5 separate regions of the Homo sapiens genome follow, and all the other regions are linked to region 3. The links are contacts of gene promoters, found by promoter capture Hi-C in blood cells and fetal thymus (Javierre and others, 2016). All regions are on one chromosome and are shown on one strand. Each heading gives the region's core, a stretch centred on a gene start or on the middle of the fragment in contact. The rest is flanking DNA. Distances are from core to core; before and after follow the strand shown.

Region 1 (2,901 bases), core at 25-2,524, 680 kb before region 3:
AAGAAATACCAAATAAAGGCCAGACGTGGTGGCTCACGCCTGTAATCTAGAGACCTAACACCATACAGTACTATGGAACAAAATACAAATGCCTTTTTAAGAAATACCAAATAAAGGCCAGGCATGTTGGCTCACGCCTGTAATCCCAGCACTTTGGGAGGCTGAGGCAGGTGGATCACCTGAGGTCAGGAGTTTGAGACCAGCCTGGCTAACACGGTGAAACCCCGTTTCTACTAAAAATACAAAAAATTAGCAGAGCATGGTGGCACGTGCCTATAATCCCAGCTACTCGGGAGGCTGAGGCAGGAGAATCGCTTGAACCCCGGAGGCGGAGGTTGCAGTGAGCCGAGGTCGCACCACTGCACTCCAGCTTGGGCAACAAGAACGAAACTCAGTCTCAAAAACTATAAATAAATAAATCGCAGCCGTTAGGAGACTAAGATTCCACAGACTGATTACTGAAAGTAATTGCAAAAACTGCAAATACTTTTGTACCAACCTAATAGATGCCAGGCAGGAAACCAGATAAAAGCCGAGAAAAGAAGGGCCAATATTAGAAGGGGTTACCGGGCTGTGTGCACTAAGGGACCCCCTCCCTTTCCCAGAACGCACCGCCAGCACTGCACCTTCACTCAGTACCAGGTAGCCGAGCTGGTCTGGGATTCGCTCCAGCCCCTGGGTCAGCGCAGAAGTCTAGTGGGTAAAGATGCAAGTCGTGAGAAGCATGCTAGAGGGATGGACGGCCCGATACCCTTCACCTGCAAACCCAAGTCTCTGGGTTGACGATGGCCCCAGGTTTTCTCATTCCCCAGCCAGGTCCCTTCCCGGCCCCCTCCCCCCTACATGGTCCTCAATACTGATCTTCCCGAGCCTCCATCTGCCCCCACTCTCGCCCCCGGGCTCCCCTGGCCTTCCACATCCCACCTTTGCTACCCCAAGGGGCCTTTGCTGCCCCACTGGCCCCTGCCCCCAGACCCTCTCTTCACCTCCCTTCGTCTCCGCCCGACCTGCAGACTACCCGCAGCCCCAGAACACCCTCCCACAGACCCCTCCCCAGCATTCTCGTCGCCATCCCTCCCATTTCCATCCCCTCTTCCTCCCCGAGCGGATAGGAGGTGAGGGTGGAGCGCAGGCCCACCAGGGGGAAACCACACAGACTGGGGAGCAGAGACGCTGAACCCCCGGCGGGTCCTCTCGCGCATGCGTCCTCACTCACCATCGCAGTCTTCGGTGCTGGGGGAGCTCCCTACCAGATAGGTAGCTTCCGGCTTCAGGCCCCGGTCACGTGCTTGCAGCCGCTGCGCTCCTCCTTCTGCTTGCGCCACTGGCCTTTAGCCCCGCCTCTAGCATGAGGATTGGACAGTGGCCACGTCGTCAGACCCAACCAGCCAGTGCGAAGCGCTGTTTCCCGGAGGCGCACGTTGATTGGTGATATCCCCTCTTTAACACCCATCTCCCCGCCCCTCAGTGCCTGAGCGAGAGGAAGACGCGGGAGCGTCCGAGGAGGGGAGGATCTGGGAGGGGCGGGAGTAGGCCGGGGTTGACCGTTTGGTCCTGGGCGCACTGTCTGGAGCCAGAGTTCCGCCTGAGCCAGGATGCCCGCTGGTGTGACCCCCCCAAATGAATCCCTTCCCAGGTTTAAGACTGGACCCAAAAACTAGAGAATAAAAGGAAATAACGTGCAATGCATGTGAAAAACTATTCAAGGCTGGGCGCCGTGGCTCACGCCTGTAATCTCAGCGCTTTGCGAGGCCGAGGACGGATCATTTCAGGGCAAGAGTTCGAGACGAGCCTGAGCAACATAGCGAGACCCTCCCCAGTCCCCCCGCTCCAACCACCTCTACAAAAAAATAAGAAAATAAGCCGGGCATGGTGCCTCACGCCAGTAATTCCAGCTACTAGGGAGGCTGATGGAGGAGAATCTCTTGAGCTCAGCAGTTGCAGAGTGCAGTGAGCTATTATGGTGCCACTGCACTCCAGCCTGGGTGCCCTTCCTCTAAAAAAAAAAGAAAAGAAAAGGAAAAAAAAGGTACTCAAATGCTACTTTTTTTTTTTTTTGAGTCGGAGTCTCACTCGGTCGCCCAGGTTGCAGTGCAATGGCGCGATCTCTGGCTCAATACAACTTCCGCCTCCCGTGTTCAAGCAATTCTCCTGCCTCAGCCTCGCGAGTAGCTGGGATTACAGGCGCCCACCACCACGCCCGGCTATTTTTGTGTTTTTAGTAGAGATAGGGTTTCACCATATTGGCCAGGCTGGTCTCAAACTCCTGACCTCGTGATCCGCCCGCCTCGGCCTCCCAAAGTGCTGGGATTACAGGCTTGAGCCACCGCGTCCGGCCCTCAAATGCTACTTTTGTGCCTACTCAAGACAGCTCTTTGTTGAAGACAAGAATTTGTTCCCGAAGTGGTTTTTTTGTCCCCAGATTCAGTCCGGGACAATGTGGTGGTAAATAGAATCCCCAGCTAGCCAATGCAGCTGCAATACTGAATATTCATTCCCTACAGGAAAAAATTAGAAACAGTACCTTGGAATGATACACACACACACACACACACACACACACACACACATCACACAATATATGTAAACATTAGAAATTTTTGTTTTAAATAATTTCTAAACCTGTTGCCATATTAATGTGGTGGAGGCTGTGTTAGTGAAATAATATGAAGAATGATTCTAGAAGCCTGGGCAACATAGCAAGACCCCATCTCTAAAAATTTAAAAATTAACCAGGCATGATACTGCACATGTAGTCCCAGCTACCCGGGAGGCTGAGGTGGGAGAATCGCTTGAGCCCAGGAGGTTGAGGCTGCAGTGAGCCATGATCATGCTACTGCACTCAAGACTGGGTAAAAGAGCAAGATTGTCTCAAAAAGCAACAAAAAAATCTGAATATAA
Region 2 (3,308 bases), core at 207-2,706, 650 kb before region 3:
GTGAGCCACCGCGCCTGGTCTTTTTTTCTTTTGAGACAGTCTCGCCCTGTCGCCCAGGCTAGAGTGCAGGGGCACCATCATAGCTCGCCCCAGTCTTGAACCCCTGGTTCTAGCGATCCTCCTGCTTCAGCCTCCTGGAGTGCTGGGAATACAGGCGTGCACGCCCCTCTAAATTTTTTTTGGTTTTTTTTGAGACGGAGTCTTGTTCTGTCGCCCAGGCTAGAGTGCAGTGGCGTGATCTCAGCTCACTGCAACCTCCGCCTCCTGGGTTCAAGCGATTCTCCTGTCTCAGCCTCCCGAGTAACTGGGATTACAGGCGCCCACCACCATGCGTGGCTTTTTTTTTTGAGACGGAGTCTCGCTCTATCACCCAGGCTGGAGTGCAGTGGCACGATCTTGGCTCACTGCCAGCTCCGCCTCCCGGGTTCCCGCCATTCTTCTGCCTCAGCCTCCCGAGTAGCTGGGACTGCAGGCGCCTGCCACCACACCCGGCTAATTTTTTGTATTTTTAGTAGAGACGGGCTTTCACCGTATTAGCCAGGATGGTCTCGATCTCCTAATCTTGTTATCCACCCGCCTTGGCCTCCCAAAGTGCTGGGATTACAGGCGTGAGTCACCGCGCCCAGCCGCCCGGCTAATTTTTGTATTTTTGGTAGAGACGAGGTTTCTCCATGTTGGCCAGGCTGCTCTCGAACTCCTACACTCAGGTGATCCGCCTGCCTCGGCCTCCCAAAGTGCTAGGATTACAGGTGTGAGTCACTGCGCCCAGCCTCCAGGCTGGTCTTGACCTTTTGGACTCAAGTGATCCTCCCATCTCCACCTCTGCAGTAACTGGGACTACAGGCGCTGCACCACCAGCCCTGCAGTCTTCTTTGTGTGTGTGTGTGTGTGTAGAATTGGGGTTTCACTATGTTGCTCAGGCTGGAGCTTGAGCTTAACAAGACAGCGGCCATTCTGGGTGCTGCCTCATCGACCAGCTAGCTATGTGTGCCCGGCTGTTGTTTGAAACTTTGGGCCCAGCTAGTTTTTAGAAAAAAAGAAAAAAGTTTAATAGCGATATAGAAAATTGAGCACCTATAAAACTATATGGTGGGCTCTGGGTTACATTGAGCTTAAGTAGACCAAGTATCTATCCCACCTAAATTATCAGCAACTCCAGGCCATGACCCAGTGTCCCATTCTCCTTCACGGTTTGCTGGTGTGTAGCCTCCTGGATACAGGCAATGTATATAGATCGCAGAGAATGTCCGTTCTGGCCTCTTCCTTGGAAGGGTCTAAAAACAGACCTTAAGGAGCTAAGTGACTTCCCCAAAGCCCACAGCTCCAGTGCCACTGCTGACTTTTGGGTGGGGGTGGGATCAGTTAAAGAGGAAAGCTTTCAGTACTGTCAGCACATACACCTGCCAATTAAGGGGCTGGATAGAGTTCATCTCTAGGAGCAGGACCTCCACCCCCACCCTCCACCCCAGAAGCCATGTCATGCTGTTTCACCAGGATCTTGCCTGAGGTTAGATGGGAGAGAACAGCTACAAGCTTGGGTGGAGTCACTCATAAACACACCCTGAAAGCTGTGGAGCAGGGAGAGTGCAGGCTTTAGAGGGCTCTCCATGATCCCTTCCCCTCCTGGGGGCTCAAAGGCAAGGGTCAAAGATCTTCTCGGTCAAGTTTGGGGTGGCTTCCTGTCTTGGTCATCTTGTCTCCCCCTTCCTCTTCCTCCTCTTCCTCCTCCTCCTCCTGCTCTTCCTCCCCTTCTGTTTTCTCTTCCCCATCTGTGATCTCCTTTCCAGTCCAAGTTTCCTGTAGACATGCTAGATCGGATGACAGAAAACAATTTAGATATTAGTCCTGGAGGCAGGGGAGGCTATGGCTTGGCAGGAGAGGAGTTCAACCCTTACGCTTACCAGTTTCAGCAGCTGGGAGCACATGACCTTCACAGAGAAAATTTTGTAGGGGCTGCTCCTGATGGTGGAAGTACCAGTCTCCCACAATGTCTTCAAACTCCTCCAACATGGTCTCACACTGGTCAAGTAGAAGGGCCAGAAGAGTATCTGCTCTGGAGGGATTTGGGATCCCGCCTGTCTTCTCTCCCTGCTCAACCTGACTGATTTTGGAGAGGCAGGTAGCCAGGAAGCTAAGTTTGGCCTACTAGATGTGCAATCCTCATTCATTCAACAAACATTTACCAGCACCTATTCTGCCAAGTAGATTATTAAACTCTTGAGTCTCAGCTCCTTGCCTGTAAAATATGTATGGTAATTGCACCTACCACATCAGGCTGTTAAGGGTAAAATGAGGCTACAGATGCAAAGTATCTGGTCCAGAGTCTGGGACACAGTAGGTGCTCAATAAGTGATGGTGGATATCATTAGCAACCATTGTTACTTTTTTTTTTTTTTGAGATGGAGTCTCGCTCTGTCACCCAGGCTGGACTGCAGTGGTGGGATCTCAGCTCACTGCAACCTCCGCCTCCCGGGTTCAAGTGATTCTCCTGCCTCAGCTTCCTGAGTAGCTGGGACTACAGATGCATGCCACCACACCACCACGCCCGGCTAATTCTTGTATTTTTAGTAGAGACAGGGTTTCACTATGATGGCCCGGCTGGTCTTGAACCCCTGATGTCGTGATCCGCCTGTCTCGCCCTCCCAAAGTGCTGGGATTACATACGTGAGCCATCGCACCTGGCCCATTATTACTTTTTAAAAATTTTCCTTAAGGCAGGGCCCAATGGCTCATGCCTGTAATCCCAGCACTTTGGGAGGCCAAGGCGGGTGGATCACCTGAGGTCAGGAGTTCGACCAGCCTGGCCAACATGATGAAACCCCGTCTCTACTAAAATTACAAAAAATTAGCTGGGCGTGGTGGCAGGGGCCTGTAATCCCAGCTACTCGGGAGGCTGAAGCAGGAGAATGGCTTGAACCCGGGAGGCGGAGGTCGCGGTGAGCCGAGATGGTGCCGGTGCACTCCAGCCTGGGCAATAAGAGTGAAACTCCGTCTTGAAAAAAAAAATTCTTTAAAATTATTATTATTTGTAGAGAAGGGGGTCTCTTATGTTGCACAAGCTGGTCTCTAACTCTGGTCTCAAACAGTCCTTCTCCCTCAGACTCACTAAGTGCTAGCATTACAGTTGTGAGCCACTCCACCCGGCTCATTATGATTTCTTTTTTTTTGTTTTTGTTTTTGTTTTTTTTTTTAAGATGGAGTCTTGCTCTGTCGCCCTGGCTGGAGTGCAATGGTGCGATCTTGGCTCATGGCAACCTCCACCTCCTGGATTCAAGCAATTCTCTTGCCTCAGCCTCCCAAGTAGCTGG
Region 3 (3,215 bases), core at 62-2,561:
GTGGCCCAGGGAAGCCAAGAGATTGGACACCCCTGCACTATATTTACTGAATGTGTTTGTGAAGGCTGTGCATCTGAATGTCAGACTTGCTAATGAAAAATTAAATGGAGTCCATGTTTTGGGTACGGCCCTAGGCCAACCACCCACAGCCATGTAAGGCATTTAAAATACATTGATTTCTCCCTTGAGTTCAGGAGTTGGAGACTGCAATGAGCTATGATGGCACCACTACACTCCACCCTGGGTGACAGAGCAAGACCCTGTCTCTCTTAAAAACAACAGGCCGGGCGTGGTGGCTCACACCTGTAAATCCCAGCACTTTGGGAGGCCGAGGCGGGCGGATCATGAGGTCAGGAGTTCAAGACCAGCCTGGCCAACATAGTGAAACCCAGTCTCCACTAAAAATACAAAAATTAGCCGGGCATGGTGGCGCGTGCCTGTAGTCCCCGCTACTCGAGAGGCTGAGGCAGGAGAATCGCTTGAACCCGGGAGTTGGAGGTTGCAGTGAGTCGAGATTGGCCCATTGTACTCCAAACTGGGCAACAGAGTAACACTTCGTCTCAAACACAACAGCAACAACAATTCCTTATTTCCCTGAAAAGTGTGCGCTGACCAGGAAAGAAGCTTTTTTCTCGTCCGCATGATAAACTGAACCAATCAGCTACAGATGCGAGGCTGATCCAGCTCGACTTACCCTAGAAGGAATGCAAGTTGATAATGGCCAATTACAATCAAGATCACTGCACTTCCTCATTTAGCTTTCCAAGCTGCCATTGGAACAATTTGCCAGCTGTTCCTCTGCATGCACAATAAACTCTTAAAACTTTAACTGGAGGGGACTGTTAACTTTTGACAAAATCCAAAATGCCGCTTCACAATCACGTGAACACCTTCCACTAACAACCACGGCTCATCTCCCACTCTAACAAAACCAAGTCCAGGCGTTCACCATCCATTCATTCTTCGGACTTTGCTCCTCTCGCTGCCGAAGACTTGACACCGCCAAAAATACTCAAAAGCTGGTGCCACAGGCCCCGAGAGCCGCCGCACAAACCCGGAGCGTCCCCTGCGAGCCGGGGGTGTGCGCAGTGGCCTACCCCCCGCACCCACGCCCCCCACAACACTCGTTTCCTTCTCCCCAAACCTGCTGACGGCTCCGAATCTCCGCCAAGCCGCCTCCACCAGGGGCTGGGCTCTCCTCTCGGGGTTCCCGGGCCTGACCCGAGGTCTGTCTGGTCCGCGCCCCTCGGCGAATCACCCCTTACCGGAGGAACAGACACAACCACTCTGGCAGCCTCAGAGCCTCTCGCTGGCTCCACCTGCGCGCGCCGAGCGAAGCGTCCCAGCCAGCGGCCCCTCTAGGACCGCGGAGGCTTCACGACTCTCTTGTCAGACAAAGAGAGTGGCGCCCGCGCGAGTGGGCCCGAACCAATCAACGGCCGCCCTCCCCGCCCAGGCCAATCAACGGCCGGAGACAGCACCGAGAGAGTCACGTGATGGACAGGGCCCCGCCCCTCCTGTTTAATCGTAACATAATTTAGAATTATTCTATGATTCAAGAGCGACACAATTCGTTTCTTTGGCTGTGTGTTTGTGGAGGGGAGTAAGGTTATCAGATAAAAGAAGAAAAATGGGCCAGGCGCGGTGGCTTACGCCTGTAATCCCAGCACTTTGGGAGGCAGAGGCCGGCGGATCAGGTCAAGAGATTTAGATCATCCTGGCCAACATGGTGAAACCCCTTCTCTACTAAAAATACAAAAAAATTGCCGGGCGCGGTGGCTCACGCCTGTAATCCCAGCACTCTGGGAGGCCGAGGCGGGTGGATCACCTGAGGTCGGGAGTTCGATACCAGCCTGACCAACAATGGAGAAACCCGTCTCTACTAAAAATACAAATAAAATTAGCCGGGCATGGTGGTGCCTGCCTGTAACCCCGGCTACTCGGGAGGCTGAGGCAGGAGAAGCGCTTGAACCCGGGAGGCGGAGGTTGCGGTGAGCCGAGATTGCGCCACCGCACTCCAGCCTGGGTGACAGAGCGAGACTCCGTCTCAAAAAAAAAAAAAAAAAAAAAAAAATTAGCTGGGCATGGTGGCGGCGTGCCTGTAGTGCCAGCTACTCGGGAGGCTGAGGCAGGAGAATCACTTGAACTCGGGAGGCGGAGCTTGCAGTGAGCCGAGATCCCACCACTGCACTCCAGACTGGCGACAGAGCGAGACTCTGTCTCAAAAAAAAAAAAAAGAATATTAGATCTTAATTAAAAGGATAATTGTGTGGCTTATGTAAATTACCCCCAAAATACAGTTTTAATGTGAGTAAGGGGTTAATTTTTTTTCTTTTTTTTTTGAGACAGTCTCGCTCTCGCCCAGGCTGGAGTGCAGTGGCGCGATCTCGGCTCACTGCAAGCTCCGCCTCCCGGGTTCACGCCATTCTCCTGCGTCAGCCTCCTGAGTAGCTGGGACTACAGGCGCCCGCTACCACTCCCGGCTAATTTTTTTTGTGTGTGTGTTTTTAGTAGAGACGGGGTTTCACCATTTTGGCCAGGCTGGTCTCGAACTCCTGACCTCAAGTGATCCGCCTGCCTTGGCCTCCCAAGTTTTGTTTGTTTTTTATTTCTTCTAAACAAAACAAAACAAACAGGATACACGTGCAGAACGTGCAGGTTTGTTACATGTGCCATGGTGGTTTGCTGCACCTATTGACCCATCCTCTAAGTTCCCTCCCCTTACCCCCGACTCCCCAAAAGGCCCAGGTGTGTGTTGTTCCCCTCTCTGTGTCCATGCGTTCTCAATATTCAATTCCCACTTATGAATGAGAACATGCTGTGTTTGGTTTTCTGTTCCTGTGTTAGTTTGCTGAGGCTGATGGCCACCAGCTTCATCCATGTCCCTGCAAAGGACAGGATCTCATTCCTTTTTGTGGCTGCTTAGTATTCCATGGTGTATTTGTACCACATTTTCTTTATCCAGTCTACCACTGATGGGCATTTGGGTTGGTTCCATGTCTTTGCTATTGTAAATAGTGTTGCAATAAACATATGTGTGTTGGCTGAGTGCAGTGGCTCACGCCTGCAATTCCAGCACTTTGGGAGGTCAAGGCAGGCAGATTACCTGAGATCAGGAGTTCGAGACCAGCCTGGCCAACATGGTGAAACCCCGTCACTACTAAAAATACAAAAATTAGCCGGGCTCGGTGGCAGGAGTATGTAATCCCAGCTAC
Region 4 (3,224 bases), core at 476-2,975, 520 kb before region 3:
AGTGATCTGTGGTCACACAGATCTTAATCACCACTCCCCGACAGAGAATAAACATTTATCAGGATGGGGCCGGGGAAGGTGGCTCACGCCTGTAATCCCAGCAATTTGGGAGGCCGAAGTGGGAGGATCACTGAGGTCAGGAGTTCGAGACCAGCCTGGCCAACATAGCGAAACCCTGTCTCTATTAAAAATACAAAAATTAGCTGGGCTTGGTGGCAGGCGCCTGTAATTCTAGCTACTGGGGAGGCTGAGGCAGGAGAATCGCTTGAACCCGGGAGACGGAGGTTGCAGTGAGCCGAGATCGTGCCACTGCACTCCAGCCTGGGCAACAGAGCAAGACCCTGTCCCCCATCCCAAAAAACCAAAAACAACCATTTATCTGGATGGTGTCGAAATATTTACCACTTCCCCTGCACTTCTGACTTTTCGAACTTTGTGCTTTTGCCTGAGTTCCATCTGGAATGTTCTTCTTGGATGGTGGAGCATGTCGTCCACCTAACCAATTCCTACCTCTCCTTTGAATACACACCACTTAGTGGAAGTCTTCCCTGATCCCTGCCGACAAGCTTTTCAACTGCATCTCTCTCTTAAGCTAACCCAAGTCAGTACCGGCACCCTTGCTGGAATGTCCCATTTTGGGAAAGGCAGTATTTCTTGTATGAATCTTCATTTGCTCTCTACTGGGGGTAAGTGCACGTTAGAGAATAATGAAAACTTCAAGTCAAGGGATGCAGAGTGCGTTTACCAGTTCAACAACCTGGACTTTCTACCAGGCCATTTTCAAACTGAGCTGCCACGGACAGCAGCATGGACTTTGGTGCTAGCGGGGTCGGCCTGAAATCTGCAGCCTGCATGCTCCAAGGATGCCTGAAAAGAAGGGTCGAACCATGGGCCGCTCCCAGGACCCACCCTTTTAGTCTTCCCAGCTGGCTCAGGAAACAAAGGGGGGCCGGAGAGAGGCGGCGCCCAGGGCGCAACAGCCGGAGACTGGCGCTGCGTGCCTGGGGACAGAGGCCTCGTGCTAGGAGCCCCAAGCAACTACACACCTAGCCGCTGGCAAGAACAAACAGCAGTGACAGCAACAAACAGAACCGACAGCCGCAGACCGCCGTCGCTGCGGCCCACAAAGGCCGGAAGTGTGGCGGGTGCCGGCGGCCGAGGCGCCCTCTCTAGGACTTCGGAGGGCCCGCATCTCGGTGGTTCCCTATACTGGAAGACCCCCGATTCCCAGGGCGTGTACCCTACGACGGGGGCCTCAAAATGAGTCAAAAGGGAGAAAAGCCTGGGCGCAGTGACTCGTACCTGTAATCCCAGTCCTTTGGGAGGCCGAGGTGGGAGGATCGCTTGAGGCCAGGAGTTCGAGACTGGCCTGGGCAACAGAGAGAGACCTGGTCTCTACCAAGAATTAATAAAATGAGCCGGGTGTGGTGGGGCACACCTGTAGCCCCAGCTATTCGGGAGGCTTAAGTGGAAGGATCACTTGAGCCCTGGAGTCAGAGGCTGCAGTGAGCTTTGCTTGCACCATTGCACTCCAGCCTGGGAAACACAGTGAGACCCCATCTCAAAAAGGAAAAAAAAGGAAAGAAGAGAGGGAAGGAGAGAGGGAGGAAGGACAGAGGGAGGGAGGAGGGAGAGAGGGAAGGAAGGAAGAGAGGAAGGAAGAAAGGAAGGAAGGAAAGAAGGAAGGAAGGAAGGAAGAAGGAATCGAATTCAGCGGCTCACCTGTGGAAGAGGAAATCCATTTACAATGCATCCAGGCCTGAGTTTCAGCTGAGGGGTTGGAGCATGGCTGATTATCATCCTGGCTTCCCCCAGAGACCAAGGAAACTGAGGCCTGGAGCAAGTTCTTGCTTGCTCAGGGTCTCACAGTGATCCGGGTCAGAAGCCAGGACTTGTGGGACCACGATTTGTGCCCTTTGCACTGCCTGGACTGCCTCTCATCATAAATGAATACGGATAAAATTCGTTATGCTTTCAAAGTGGTAGGAAACACATGACAGATCAAAGCAGACAAAATAGTGTGCAAGACTTTTGAGAAGACGCCTCACACTCGTCGGGATGGCTACAGTTTAAATATCCCTTATCTGAAATGCTTGGGACCGGAAATGTTTCAGATTTCAGAATTTTTTTTTGACTTTGGAATATTTGCTTTACTGGTTGAGCAGCCCTAATCCCAAAATCCTAAGTCTGAAATGCTCTAATGAGCATTTTCTCTAAGTGCCATGATGGCCCTCAAGTTCTGGTTTTGTAACTTTTGGAGCTCAGATATTTGGATTAGGGATACTCTCCCTGTACTAAAAACAAACAAACAAACAAACACAAAAAACCACCACCACCACCAACAAAACAAAACAAAATAGCAGGTGTTTGGTGAGGATGTGGACAAATTGGAATCTTTGTGCATTGCTGGTGGGAACATAACATGGTGCAGCCCCCGTGAGAAATAGTACAGCGCTTCTTCAATAAAATTAAAAATAGAATTGGCTGGTGTGGTGGCTCCCGCCTGTAATCCCAGCACTTTGGGAGGTGAAGGCAGGCGGATCATTTGAGATCAGGAGTTCCAGACCAGCCTGACCAACATGGCAAAACCCTGTCTCTACTAAAAATACAAAAAAAAATCAGCTGGGCGTGGTGGCTCACGCCTGTAATCCCAGCTACTCGGGAGGCTGAGGCAGGACAGTTGCTTGAACCTGTGAGGGGGAGGTTGCAGTGAGCAAAGATGGTGCCACTGCACTCCAGCCTGGGCGACAGAGCTAGATTCTGTCAAAATGAAATGAAATGAAATGAAATAAAATAAAATAAAATAATCTCTGAAGGCTAAAGAGAGAAATTGGGTCAGCTGAAGAGTTTACAGATTTGCAGAGAATAGAGGCAAGGAAGCTTTGTGAACTACTTTTAGGTTGTGAAACTTGGTCTTGATTCAGCCCCCACATGGTCTTCATATACAAAGCTTCTTTGCAGAGGAAGCTCTTTGGAGAAAGATAACTGGTGAGATAGAAAGCACAGCCAAGAGATAACAAGGGAGACTTCTCTGGAGAATTTTGTGGATGAAGAGGAAAAACAAATCCATAAGGTCATGGGGATAATGAGTTATTTGAAATCAGAAAGAGTGATTAACATGGAGGCGGGGCGCAGTGGCTCATGCCTGTAATCCCAGCGCTTTGGGAGGCTGAGGCAGGCGGATTGCCTGAGGTCAGAAGTTCGAGACCAGTCTGGCCAACATG
Region 5 (3,215 bases), core at 57-2,556, 590 kb before region 3:
AGGATGGCTTGAGTCTGGGAGTTCAAGACCAGCTTGGGCAACATAGGGAGACCCCATTTCTACAAAAAGTTAAAATAAAAAAATTAGGTGGGCATGGTGTGCCCCTGTGGTCCCAGCTACTTGGGAGACTGAATAAGAGGATCACTTAAGCCTGGAAGGTCAAGGCTGCAATGGGTCAAGACTGCAGTGAGCCATGATTGTGCTGGCCTGGGCAACAGAGTGAGACCCTATCTTTAAAAAAATATTTATTTTATTTATTTATTTTGAGACGGAGTCTCATTCTGTTGCCCAGGCTGGAGTGCAGTGGTATCATCTTGGCTCACCGCAGTCTCCGCTCCTGGGTTCAAGTGATTCTCCTGACTCAGCCTCCCGAAGAGCTGGGACTAGAAGCACCTGGCACCACGCCCAGCTAATTTTTGTATTTTTAATAGAGATGGGGTTTCACCATGTTGGCTAGGCTGGTCTCAAACTCCTGACATCAGGTGATCCACGTGCTGGGATTACAGGCGTGAGCCACCGTGCCCAGATGTTTTTTTTTTTTTTGAGATGGAGTTTTGCTCCTGTTGTCCAGGCTGGAGTGCAATGGTTCAATCTCAGCTCACCGCAACCTCTGCCTCCCAGGTTCAAGCGATTCTCCTGCCTCAGCCTCCCGAGTAGCTGAGATTACAGGCATGTGCCACCATGCCCGGCTTATTTTGTATTTTTAGTAGAGACAGGGTTTCTCCATGTTCTAGACCATAGGCTGGTCTAGAACTCCTGACCTCAGGTGATCTGCCCGCCTCAGCCTCCCGAAGTGCTGGGATTACAGGCATGAACCACCACACCCGGCCCTTTAAAAAAAAAAAAAAAAAAAAAAAGAACAGTTGAGCCTCACGCAGATTAAAAACAAGGGAGAATGACTGCTGCAGGGCCAGGGTTAAGGAAAATGACAAGGACAATTAAGGATGAGGCTGAGTGGCAAACTCACAAAAACCCATGTTCCCACAGCAGTTGAACATAAAAGCAATCAGAGGGCATTCTGACCATTTACAATCATTCCCGCCCCAGATCCGTATCAATCAGAATGAAAGCACGTGATCTCCAAGAGGGCTTCACGCTCATCATTTACTTACACTGGCTACATCTTGTAATTCAGTTATAAAGTGACGCTCACTATTAAAATCAGATGGAACCAGTTTATCTTTTTAGAACGCCTCACCAGGCAGTCACACCTCTTCAAAGTCCACCTGGCCATCCACATCAGGGAAAAGGGGAGTAAGAGAAATTCGCTCTGAAAAATGGGACCCCTTGGAGAACTGTTAGTCCTCTGAGGGTACAGAAGCCTGTCAGCAAGCTACCTTCTTCACCCGTTTCCCCTTCCCTAGGAACCGCCCTGACAGCTTCTCTCTCTCTGCCCAGCTGTCTATCTCCTTCCTTTGCTGACAGTGACTATCAGCTGCTTCCAGGCTCACCCTCTCCTCACCATCTGCTGGGGGTCAGAGCTTCAGCAGCTGAAGTCCTTCACACTCTCCATAATTAGCAATCGCTTGCCTACACACAGACTTCTCTTCGAGTCACTGGACAGCCATGGACTACATGTGTGGGACAGAAGTAACCTCATAAACTTTGTTTTGTTTTGAGATAGAGTCTGGCTCTGTTGCCCAGGTGGGAGTACAGTGGCATAATCTTAGCTCACTGCAACCTCCACCTCCCAGGCTCAAATGATCCTCCTGCCTCAGCCTCCCGAATAGCTGGGACCCCAGGCACTAGCCACCACACCTGGCTAATTTTCGTATTTTTTGTACAAATGGGGTTTTACCATGTTGCTCAGGCTAGCCTCAAACTCCTGGCCTCAAATGATCCACCTGCCTTGGCCTCCCAAAGTGCTGGGATTACAGGTGTGAGCCACCATGCCCAGCCAAAAGTTAACATTTTAAAAAATAGCTGAATGAGGCAAAAATTGAAAAAGAATTTACCAGGACTATTTATTTCATTGTCTTCCAGGCTGCACTGTTACTGTTGGGTAGTTTGTCATCAGTCTAATCAGCATTCCTTTGAGGGGGGTAATCCGTCTTTTATGTCTTGGTTACTTTTGAGACCCGGTCTCACTCTGTCGCCCAGGCTGGAGTGCAGTGGTGCAATCTCAGGTCACTGCTGCACCACAACCTCCACCTCCTGGGTTCAGGTGATTCTCCTGCCTCAGCCTCCCAAGTAGCTGGGAGCTGGGACTACAGGCGTGTACCAATACACTCGACTAATTTTTGTATTTTTAGTAGAAATGTTTTTTTTTTTTTTTTTTTTGACGGAGTCCTACTCTGTTGCGCCAGGCTGGAGTGCAGTGGCGCGATCTTGACTTACTGCAACCTCTGCCTCCCAAGTTCAAGCGATTCCCCTGCCTCAGCCTCCCGAGTAGCTGGGACTACAGGTCCCAGGGACAACACGTGCCACCATGCCCGGTTGAGATGGAGTTTCACTATGTTGGCCAGGCTGGTCTCAAACTCCTGACCTCAGGTGATCCGCCTGCCTCAGCCTCCCGAAGTGTTGGGATTACAGGCGTGAGCCACCATGCCCAGCCAGTCTGGTTTTTTTTTTATTTTTTGAGATGGAATCTCACTCTGTTGCCAGGCTGGAGTGCAATGGCGCGATCTTGGCTCACTGCAATCTCCGCCTCCTGGCTTCAAGCGATTCTCCTGCCTCAGCCTCCTGAGTAGCTGGGACTACAGGTGCATGCCACCACGCCCAACTAATTTTTGTATTTTTAGTAGAGATGGGGTTTCACCATGTTGACCAGGATGGTCTCCATCTCCTGACCTCATGATCCGCCCTCCTCGGCCTCCCAAAGTGCTGGGATGACCGGTGTGAGCCATCATGTCTGCCCTCTCCAACTCTTTCCGCCTCCTCTGGAACAGCTATTAAACATACACTGGACCTTCTCATCTGATCCCACACTGATGTCCAATGCCTGCCACCTTGATCTTTCTAAGTAGCATTTCAGATGACTTCCTTCCATCTACCTCTGTTTGCTAATCATGTCCTTCATTATTTAAAACAGCCATTGCATTCTTCATTTCAATGACTACAGTTTTCACTTTTAGAAATTCTATTTTGTTTCTGTCAAAGGTGCCTGTTTGTGTTTTTATTAACAGTTTCTTGGCTGGGCGTGGTGGCTCACGCCTGTAATCCCAGCACTTTGGGAGGCCGAGGAGGGCGGATCATGAGGTCAGGAGTTCGAGACC

The links. The method cuts DNA at HindIII sites, captures the fragments that hold promoters and counts their contacts. A CHiCAGO score of 5 or more calls a contact.
Region 1: the fragment with the promoter of LAMTOR4 here is called in contact with the fragment with the promoter of ZNF789 in region 3 in 1 of 17 cell types (neutrophils); the score reaches 5.3 in neutrophils.
Region 2: a fragment that was not itself captured here is called in contact with the fragment with the promoter of ZNF789 in region 3 in 1 of 17 cell types (erythroblasts); the score reaches 6.7 in erythroblasts.
Region 4: a fragment that was not itself captured here is called in contact with the fragment with the promoter of ZNF789 in region 3 in 3 of 17 cell types (erythroblasts, megakaryocytes and fetal thymus); the score reaches 8.5 in erythroblasts.
Region 5: a contact is called between a fragment that was not itself captured here and the fragment with the promoter of ZNF789 in region 3, in 1 of 17 cell types (erythroblasts). The highest score is 6.4, in erythroblasts.

Annotation. Positions count from the first base shown.
Region 1 is chr7:100,147,291-100,150,191 of GRCh38, reverse strand. LAMTOR4 (late endosomal/lysosomal adaptor, MAPK and MTOR activator 4) reads right to left here and starts at 1,274. Exons shown (of 4, transcript NM_001008395.4): 1 at 1,217-1,274; 2 at 613-693. The coding sequence starts at 1,219. RefSeq lists silencers at 705-794, 805-894 and enhancers at 434-1,046, 1,195-1,304, 1,575-1,634, 1,659-2,271. The HindIII fragment of the contact is 7,868 bases long and covers 1-2,901 here.
Region 2 is chr7:100,123,225-100,126,532 of GRCh38, reverse strand. It overlaps CNPY4 (canopy FGF signaling regulator 4), which reads right to left. Exons shown (of 6, transcript NM_152755.2): 5 at 1,902-2,019; 6 at 1,025-1,808. The coding sequence ends at 1,645. It also overlaps a transcript of TAF6 not described here. Among named protein-coding and RNA genes, the nearest start is that of MBLAC1, 2.1 kb to the left of the region's middle. RefSeq lists an enhancer at 327-996. The HindIII fragment of the contact is 158 bases long and covers 1,378-1,535 here.
Region 3 is chr7:99,470,986-99,474,200 of GRCh38, reverse strand. ZNF789 (zinc finger protein 789) reads right to left here and starts at 1,311. Exons shown (of 5, transcript NM_213603.3): 1 at 1,145-1,311. RefSeq lists enhancers at 1,022-1,311, 1,602-1,691, 1,912-2,071. The HindIII fragment of the contact is 10,687 bases long and covers 627-3,215 here.
Region 4 is chr7:99,995,609-99,998,832 of GRCh38, reverse strand. LOC105375423 (a long non-coding RNA gene) reads right to left here and starts at 1,758. Exons shown (of 3, transcript NR_159960.1): 1 at 1,723-1,758. RefSeq lists enhancers at 1,181-1,300, 1,311-1,400. The HindIII fragment of the contact is 2,314 bases long and covers 569-2,882 here.
Region 5 is chr7:100,059,924-100,063,138 of GRCh38, reverse strand. The region is part of intron 3 of ZSCAN21 (zinc finger and SCAN domain containing 21); the gene reads right to left. Among named protein-coding and RNA genes, the nearest start is that of ZSCAN21, 12 kb to the right of the region's middle. The HindIII fragment of the contact is 4,595 bases long and covers 1-3,215 here.